Linked DNA regions of Homo sapiens: region 2 is linked to region 1. The links are contacts of gene promoters, found by promoter capture Hi-C in blood cells and fetal thymus (Javierre and others, 2016). All regions are on one chromosome and are shown on one strand. The core of a region is centred on a gene start or on the middle of the fragment in contact, and the rest is flanking DNA. Distances in the headings are between cores, read along the strand shown. Region 1 holds the start of EDEM1 (ER degradation enhancing alpha-mannosidase like protein 1). Region 2 has its middle 340 kb from the start of GRM7-AS1.

The links. Contacts are between HindIII fragments. The CHiCAGO score rates a contact against its expected background, and 5 or more counts as called.
Region 2: a contact is called between a fragment that was not itself captured here and the fragment with the promoter of EDEM1 in region 1, in 1 of 17 cell types (non-activated CD4 T cells). The highest score is 5.4, in non-activated CD4 T cells.

Annotation. Positions count from the first base shown.
Region 1 is chr3:5,186,116-5,190,496 of GRCh38, reverse strand. It overlaps EDEM1 (ER degradation enhancing alpha-mannosidase like protein 1), which reads right to left and starts at 2,790. Exons shown (of 12, transcript NM_014674.3): 1 at 2,183-2,790. The coding sequence starts at 2,691. RefSeq lists silencers at 685-804, 2,002-2,291, 2,342-2,511, 2,752-3,161 and enhancers at 1,802-1,851, 4,273-4,332. The HindIII fragment of the contact is 7,598 bases long and covers 1-4,000 here.
Region 2 is chr3:7,875,248-7,879,263 of GRCh38, reverse strand. No RefSeq gene overlaps it. Among named protein-coding and RNA genes, the nearest start is that of GRM7-AS1, 340 kb to the right of the region's middle. The HindIII fragment of the contact is 4,204 bases long and covers 1-3,470 here.

The DNA of each region.
Region 1 (4,381 bases), core at 1,541-4,040:
CCACCTCACTTTGCTGGGAAGGGATTCTTAAGGTTCTCCAGAAGCGCTTTTAAGGTTCATTAAGAAAAACATTAAAATGTCATCAACTCACTCTCCAAACCGTCATATTCTCAAATGAAAGTGTTATCACAATTCCCCGTTAAACTGTTTTCAACTTCAGTCCACCTGATAAAAGGTAATCTGAGAAACAGTCTGTGAGCAGGAATAAAGGCACTTATTGGAAGTGCTCTCTCCCTTCTTGTAATACCAAGAGCACTAGTGGAAAAGCACAAATTAAGATCCAAAATATGTACACATACTATGATTGCAACTATGTAAAACATGCATAGACATATGGGTAGGAACTAGTGGCAAAAATAAATTTAAAATAGCTGGTGGGATTTTATGATATTTTTCAAACTTTAATGATGTTGATTTAAAAAGAAAAAACATCAAAGCATGATGTAGGCTGACAACAAAAAAAAGACCACAATTAAATGAAGTTTATCCCCCCCCCCAAAAAAAAAACTAAGAAAGAAAATACATTTATAGGTATAAAGTCCCCTCTAGTTAAGTGAGCCAAATAATTCATTCATTTCTTAAAATCTGGAAAGACCATGGCCGGGAGCGGTGGCTCACGCCTGTAATCCCAGCACTTTGGGAGGCCCAGGCGGGTGGATCACGAGGTCAGGAGATGAGACCATCCTGGCTAATACGGTGAAACCCCGTCTCTACTAAAAATACAAAAAATTAGCCGGGCGTGGTGGCACGAGTCTGTAGTCCCAGCTACTCGGGAGGCTGAGGCAGGAGAATCACTTTAACCACAGAGGCGGAGGTTGCAGTGAGCGGAGATCGCGCCACTGCACTCCAGCCTGGGCGACAAAGCGAGACTCCGTCTCAAAAAACAAACAAAAAATCTGGAAAGGCCAAATACTTTTTTTTCAAAATTTAATATTTTTTCTCAAAAAAATTGAGATAGAAAATACACTTATACGTATAAACGCTATGGTTAAGCAAGAAAAACTCATCGGTTTCCTAGAATTTTGAAAAGGCTCAGTCCTTTGAATTTAGCTTGGGATGTCCCCTTGCTTCGGTAGAAATCATGCTCTCAAACTGCAATTTAAAACATAAATGTGTAAATAACCACACCATTTTAAAAACCCAACTCCGTTTAGTCTATAGGCTTCCTTATCAGAACCTAAGGACTGGACTCCACTGCTTTCCTCCAGGTGAAGGAAAATGCTTGCCCCAGACGGTGCCAAGACACTGAGCAAACCAACTCCTCCACTCCCATCCAGGGGAGGGGAGTCAACTATTTGGACTAACAGGGTCTATGGCAATGCACATTCCTTCCCTACAGGTAAGAGGTCCTTAGCTGGGTGTACTGCCCTCTTGGACTTTGATGTCAACAGTGGTGACCCTTGGAGCTCAGCCTTTGCAAACAAGGCTGGTGAACAGGGAAGACTGCCTGACCTTCCCGGACAACCACGCCACCAGAGGCGGGGGATTTATAGACAGATCGTACAGGGCGATGACGTTGACAGTCAATCTGGCATCCAGTGAATTTCACCTCAAGTATCTGGACCCCAAAAGTGGGCCACATAGCTTCCCTCCCCACCACCTAACTATCCTCAGCCTAAGAAGCAGCCCCTGTGAAGGAGAGGCTGTAACCCCGTTCTGCCTCAAACTCAATGGACGGCTTTGGAGAAGTCAACTATAGGCTTTTTACATAGAAAAGACGTGGGTGTGGCAATGTGATAGAGGTGGGGGTGCGAGGTAAAGGCTTGTTCTGAGGCTGCGTTTACACGGGGGGCATGATGGAGATTTCATTTAGAGTTTATGCTCATCCGGAGGAAGGGGTCGGATGGAAGTGGAAAGCCCTCCAAGCCAGCCCTTGGCACTGCCACTGTCCCTTCTGGTCCTGGACCTCAGTATCCTCACGCGTAAGACACTGAGCTGGACAGCAGTTCTGAAGTTTGGAGATTCCGGGAGAATCAGGAGAGGAAGGCCACCGGCCCACCCCGCACCCTCAAGCTCGGGGGTCTTCACAGGGACTCACACGGGACAGGGCGCGGGAGCGCTGCCCGGGACCCTAACGGCCCTGGCGCCCTCGGGGGCCCCGGAGGACAGAGGGCTGCACCCCGGCGCGGAGGGCGGAAGGAAGCGCGTGGGCGCGCGGCCCCGGGCGGCGGGGGCTACTCACGGGTCCCCGCGGTCGGGCCCACGGCCGCGGCAGTGGATGGGGTTGAGCTCGTCCTGGGGGAAGGCGTGAGCCATGTAGTTGTCGTAGCCAAAGACGAACATGCCCCGTGCCAGGTCGCGCATCTGGGCACGCAGCTGCGGAGGGAAGGCGCCGCTGTAGCGCTTCTCGTACTCGTCCGGGCCGCGGCCCCGGCCGCCCAGCACGTAGCCCCAGTTGGCTGGGCCGCACATCCCCGGCCCAGGACGCCGCGGAGCCTTGCGCGGGCTCTGCGCTGCCCCGGTCCCCGGCGGCTGCAGCCACGACGGCCCGGATACCCCCCCAGGCCGGCCCACGGGCCCCGAGGTGGGCGACGCGGGGCCGTCGGGGCTCCTCAGACGCTGGAAGCCGAAGCTGAGCGGAAAGCGCTGGTAGAAGCCCATGCTGGGCCCCAGCCCGAAGACGAGCCACAATACTCCATGGAGGCCAAGCCGGAGGAGCACCAGCCCCAGGACGAGCGCTCGCCATTGCATGGTCGCGCGGGCGCCGCGGGCATTATTTTAAAGCGCGGGGGCCTCCCCGCCGACCACCGCACCCCGCGCTCGCCCCGTAGCCCGGCTCGCTTCCCCTTTAAGGAACTCCCCCGTGACGCACCAGGAACTAGCCCATCGTCCCCAACCCCCAGGCTCTCCGGCGGGCCGGCCAGGCCCCACGGTCGCCCGCCCAGTGGCCCGGGATTGGCCCGGCCTGGGCCCGGCCTCGCGGGGCGCGGCCCAGGACTCCCTCCCACGCAGTAGGCCGCCAGGACGTCCGCGACGCCCCGAGGCCCCGCCCCTCACCCGGGCCCCGCCCCAACTCCCAAGCCCCGCCCCCCTGGGCGGTCCGTAGCCCGATGGGCTGGCGTGGCGAGCAGGAGCCGCGCCGGCCCGCGAGGGAACTTCCAGCCAATGGGAGAGCGGCACGGCAGCGCCCGCCGGACGCTGGACACAGACGTGACCCCAGACCGCCTGGCCTTGGGTGGATCGGGTCTCTGGGCAGAGCGTGTGTCCGGCAGAGCTAGGACCGGAAAAAGCCACTCTAGGTCTAGGTTAGGAGTGATGACAGTTAAAAGATATATAAGGAAAAGAAGGAAAGGATCGTTTCTGTATAAAACGAGCTATTTTTGCATATCGAGCGCATAAGTTTTATAACTTAGGTGTCTGTTTATGGAGAGGGTGGGATACTACCTTTTAGCTCAAGGAGTGCACAAAACGGTATCATGAATTCTGCTCTTTTGATTCAAACACCCAACTTTGAAGAATCGCTCATGGTGCTTGTAAAACACGTATCCCCAGATCCCTCCCTAGACCTATCGAACAACTCCAACGGTCTCGGGAATGTGCGTGTAAGTACTCTTGGACAGTTCTTAGAAACTGGAAGTTTCAGGAAATACAAAGTTATGTTATATTGCTTTTGTCTCGGAAATAGGATTTTTTTAAAAGGGGGGGGCGGGTTGGGGGTGGGAATGAAGGCTCCCACCACCACCAAATTATTTACCAGATATATCTAAACATGTCTTCTCCTGTCCCTCCCATCCTACCATCTCTCCTGTGCACCCGCAATTAGTGACCTAACCTTTGAGGTGTGGGGTAGATTCCCAGTTAAATAACTTTACCCCTCTGTATCTACTTCCTATAATTAAGAAGATTGCAAATGTTAGCTCTAAAGGGCTATGGCTTTCACATAAAGATTCAATGGTTTAGGCGCTTATTTATTTTGCTTGCTGCATTTGGAGTTGGCTGTAAGTTTTGCCCTCCCTAAGTTTAGACCCTATGCCTGTTTCATCAGGGTTTCTGAAAAGCTTGGGAAGCAAGACCTGACTAGACCCCCAAATCTGATATTGGCTGAATGGCCGACCAATGGAGTGCATAAGAAGGTAAGTTGTCATGTGGCACTCTCATCACATTTTCAGGGTAGAGGACTTTCTGAAATACAGAGGAGGTGTAAGGGGAACTAAGAAAACACTTGATTACAGCACATGGTAGCTGGCACATAGGAAGGTCCTTACTGTTGGCTGAGCCTTGTTCTTTCCCAACATTGAGACATCGAGAGCAGCCCAAGCAGCAAAAAGATTACGAAGACAGCTTGAGCCAGGGTCTTTAGACTACACAGCTTCTGCTTTTTCCCCTCTGTGAAGGATGCCTAGGGACTGTGCTGGCAGCCCAGCTCCAGCCCTTGATCCTG
Region 2 (4,016 bases), core at 119-2,618, 2.7 Mb before region 1:
CAGTCTGAGTAAGAACCATTTTTGGTGAAGTAGTACAATAATTTGGAGGTCAGAAGACACTCTGGCTTTTTGAGTTGCCAGAGCTCTTGTGCTGGTTTACTCTTATCTGTGTAGGGCTGATGTTCCTTCAGTCTTTGAAATTGCTTTCCTATGAATGGATCTTGCTTTTATCTTCTTTCGTGCCCTTGGGGGTTTGATTATGATATAAGGTGAGTTCAGTCAACTGGCTTCAATTCTAGTCTGTTCCTGGGTCTTGGAGGAGTCCTCTGATTCCTATCTCCAGGCCACTGTTTTCTGTTTTTTTGTTTGTTTATTTGTTTGTTTTGGTGGGAGGGGGGTTGTTCTGGTCCACAGGGCTCCCTCAGGTTAGGGGCCACAGTTGGTAGATGGGCTATATCCTTGCCAGGTCAGTGCTAATCTGTTGTCCAAGTGCTTTCCGGGGAATACAGGGTTGTGCCTGCCCAGAGTTCAGGCAGAAGTAGAATTATGGAAGCTCTAGCAGTTGTAGTTTGCCTGGCTATCAGCGGCAGATGTGGTTGGGGGTTGCCCTCCCTGCTGTCCAGTTGCTTCTTGGGACACAGGAGGCTGCACCCACCTGTTGAGTTCACATAAAATTGGGACCACTAGGCTGGGAGCTCTAGCAGACATTGTCTGCTTGGCTACCAGTGGCAGGGGTAGGTGGCCTCACCCACCCTGCTATCTGAGCATTTCTCAGAGCCACCGGATAAATGTATCATCTGGCAGAATCCACACAGCAGCGGTACCATTAGGCTAGAAGTTCTGGCAAGTTTTGCCTGCCTGGCTACCAGTGTGTAGGGGTCTCCTACCTTGCCACCCAGGAACTTCCTGGGACAACAGGAGCCTGTGGCTGCCAGCTGAGTTCAGGCCAAAGTAGGACAGCTGGGCTGGAAGCTGGCACCAATCTTTTCTGGTAAGGGAATGGGGTGGAGCAATCCTGTTGTTCCCAGGCACTATGATTACAGACTCTAGTGAGGCTGTGTTGCCAGTGCTGGTCTACTCTGGGGCCCAAGGCTTGTAGAGATTTCCTTGAACTTAAGAGTTGCCCTCACAGAATGTCCAGATGGCTCTCTACCCCAGTCTAGAAGGAAGGCTGCAGGAGGGATAGGGGGAATCTCTCATTCCCAGGAGAGGTTCCCAGACAGGTCCCTGTGGAGAGTTCATTCACTCACCCTTTCCTGCTTTTGAGAGGTACTCCCAGCTCTGCACTAAACTAATACAAGCTGGTTTCCAGCCTCACTCCTCTCTGCTCTCTCTGTTCCCCTGCTGCCTTGATGGAACCCGATGTAGTTTCTCAGATGACTGGCCTTGCAGGGCCAATGTTCGCCAGCCCTCTTGTTTCTTCTCTGTGAGAGTGGCATACATAACTGCTTCTAGTTCACCACCTTGGCCTAACCCCCACCTCATCTTTCTCCTTCCCAATTTTTTCTTTCTTTCTTTTTTTTTAATTTTTTTTTCTTTTATGAGATGAAGTCAGACTGTCACCCAGGCTGGGGTGCAGTGGTACAATCTCAGCTCACTGCAGCCTCTACCTCCTGGGTTCAAACGATTCTCCCACCTCAGTGTTCTTGAGTAGCTGGGAATACAGGTGTGCACCACCACACCCAGCTAATTTTTGTAGTTTTAGTAGAGACGGGGTTTTGCCATGTTTCCCAGGATGGTCTTGAACTTCTGAGCTCAAGAGATCTCCCGACCTCGGCCTCCCAAAGTACCGGGACTGCAGGTATGAGTCACTATGCCCAGCCCTTCCTTTCCAAACTTCATAGAAATGACCTATCCCTAGTAAGCTGTTTACAGATAGAAATAACAGCTCTCAGCATTATTAACAAATTATTTTAAGGTAAACTCCATGAAGGGAGAACAATTAGATGTAAAAATAAAAATGGGCTGTTTGTCTATTTCACCACTATTTTTCCATACTCTTTCTGAATAACTGATAAATTATCTTGCTGTGTTTGAGCATTAGACTTAGACATTTGTGATTAGAAAACCCCTCAACTAGTCATATATAACCAACCCTGAGTTCTGGCATTTTTCACAGGTTACTATTGGCACTTTCATTTTCTTGTGTAAATAAACCCAAGGCAATTAAATGACATCTCCCTCTATCAGCTTAAAACAGGATGAAAGGCATGATTCAATAACTTCCTCCCTATACCCAGGCTCCACACAATTTCCTGTTGCTATTTTGTGAAGAGACTTTGATGTGGTTTGGTTCTATGTTTCCACCCAAATCTCATCTCAAATTGTAATCCCCCACATGTTGAGGGAGGGACCTGGTGGGAGGTGATTAGATGATGGGGGTGGATTTGCCTCGTGCTGTTATCATGACAGTGAATGACTTCTCATGAGATCTGATAGTTTCAAAGTGTGGCACTTCCCCGCTTGCTTTCTCTCTCTCCTGCCACCATGTAAGAAGATGCTTGCTTCTCCTTTGCCTTCTGCCATGATTGTAAGTTTCAGGAAGTCCCTCTAGCCAAGCGGAACTGTGAGTCAATTAAATCTCTTTTCTTTATAAATGACCCAGTCTCAGGTCACTTATAGCAGTGTGAAAACAGACTAATACAGACTTCTTAAACAATCTATTTTTTGTCATTTGTTCACCCACCACCCCATGCATCTTCATAACAAGTACCCTGTTCTTAAATACCCACATATCACAAATTTACTGCTTAAACATTGTTTTCTTTCAAGTTCCATGTGATTTATTTCTACAAAAGTGATAGGATTTATGAATCTTTATTTTTTGAAATAAGTGCAATTTAAGAGAAAAATGAAAAGAAAACCACATTTTTTGAACCATCTGAGAATAAGCTACATGTGATGTTTCCTGGAATATGTTGAATATTTCAGCCTATATTCTCCATGAACATTCTCTTTGTTTATAGAATAATCATAGAATTACCATCAAAATCAAGAAATTAACATTACTACATTACTAACAGCCATTCAAGTTTTGCCAAATATCCCAGCAATGTCTTTTATAGCCAAAGGAATAAATAAGAGTCACATTTGGCCCACAGTTTCATATTATTTTAGGCTCTTTCAATTTGGAATAGTTCCTAGTCTTTCCTTGAAACTTTTTGAAGAGTGTAGGAGAGTTATTTTTTAAAGAAAGTCCTTCAAGTTTATCTGATGTTTATTTCATGATTGAATTCAGGCTATGCCTGTTTGGCAGGAATATCACACAAATGACTCCACATTCTTCTTGCATCTTATCAGGGAGTGCATGATTTCAATGTGACTCATCAATAATGATATTCACTCTAATCACTTAAGGTAGTGTTTGCCAGGTTTCTTTACTATAATGTTTTTTCCCTTGCGTATTTAATAAATACAATCATTCTTCAGCAACCTTGGGTGACTGGCTCCAGGACCACCTGTGAATACCAAAATCCACTGATACTCAATTCCCTAACATAAAATAGTGGAGTGTTTGCTCATAAGAAGCTTGTCCAACCGGTGGCCCAGGATGGCTTTGAATGCATCCCAACAAAAATTCATACACTTTCTTAAAACATTGAATTTGTTTGCAATTTTTTGAAATTTTTTAGCTCATCAGTTATCATTAGTGTTAATATATTTTATGTGTGGCCCAAGACAATTATTCTTCCAATATGGCCCAGGGAAATCCAAAGTTTGGACACTCCTGGCTTATAAGCTGTACATATCTTCCTATATACTTTAAATCATATTTAGATTACTTATAATAGCTAATATGTCAAGGCTATATAAAATAATCATATTGTATTGCTTAGGGAATAATGACAATATTTTAAAAGTTTGTATGTGTTTAGTACAAATGCAACCCTCCATTTTTTTCCTGAATATTTTCAACTTGTGGTCGGTCGAATACACAAACGTGGAACCTAGGGATCCAGAGAACTGACTGTGTTTGGGAAAATATATTGAGACTATGTAAATACCCTGTTACCCATCAACCTTTTACCAACTACCACTGGCATTCATTTCTACATTAGTTAGAATTCAACTCTGAG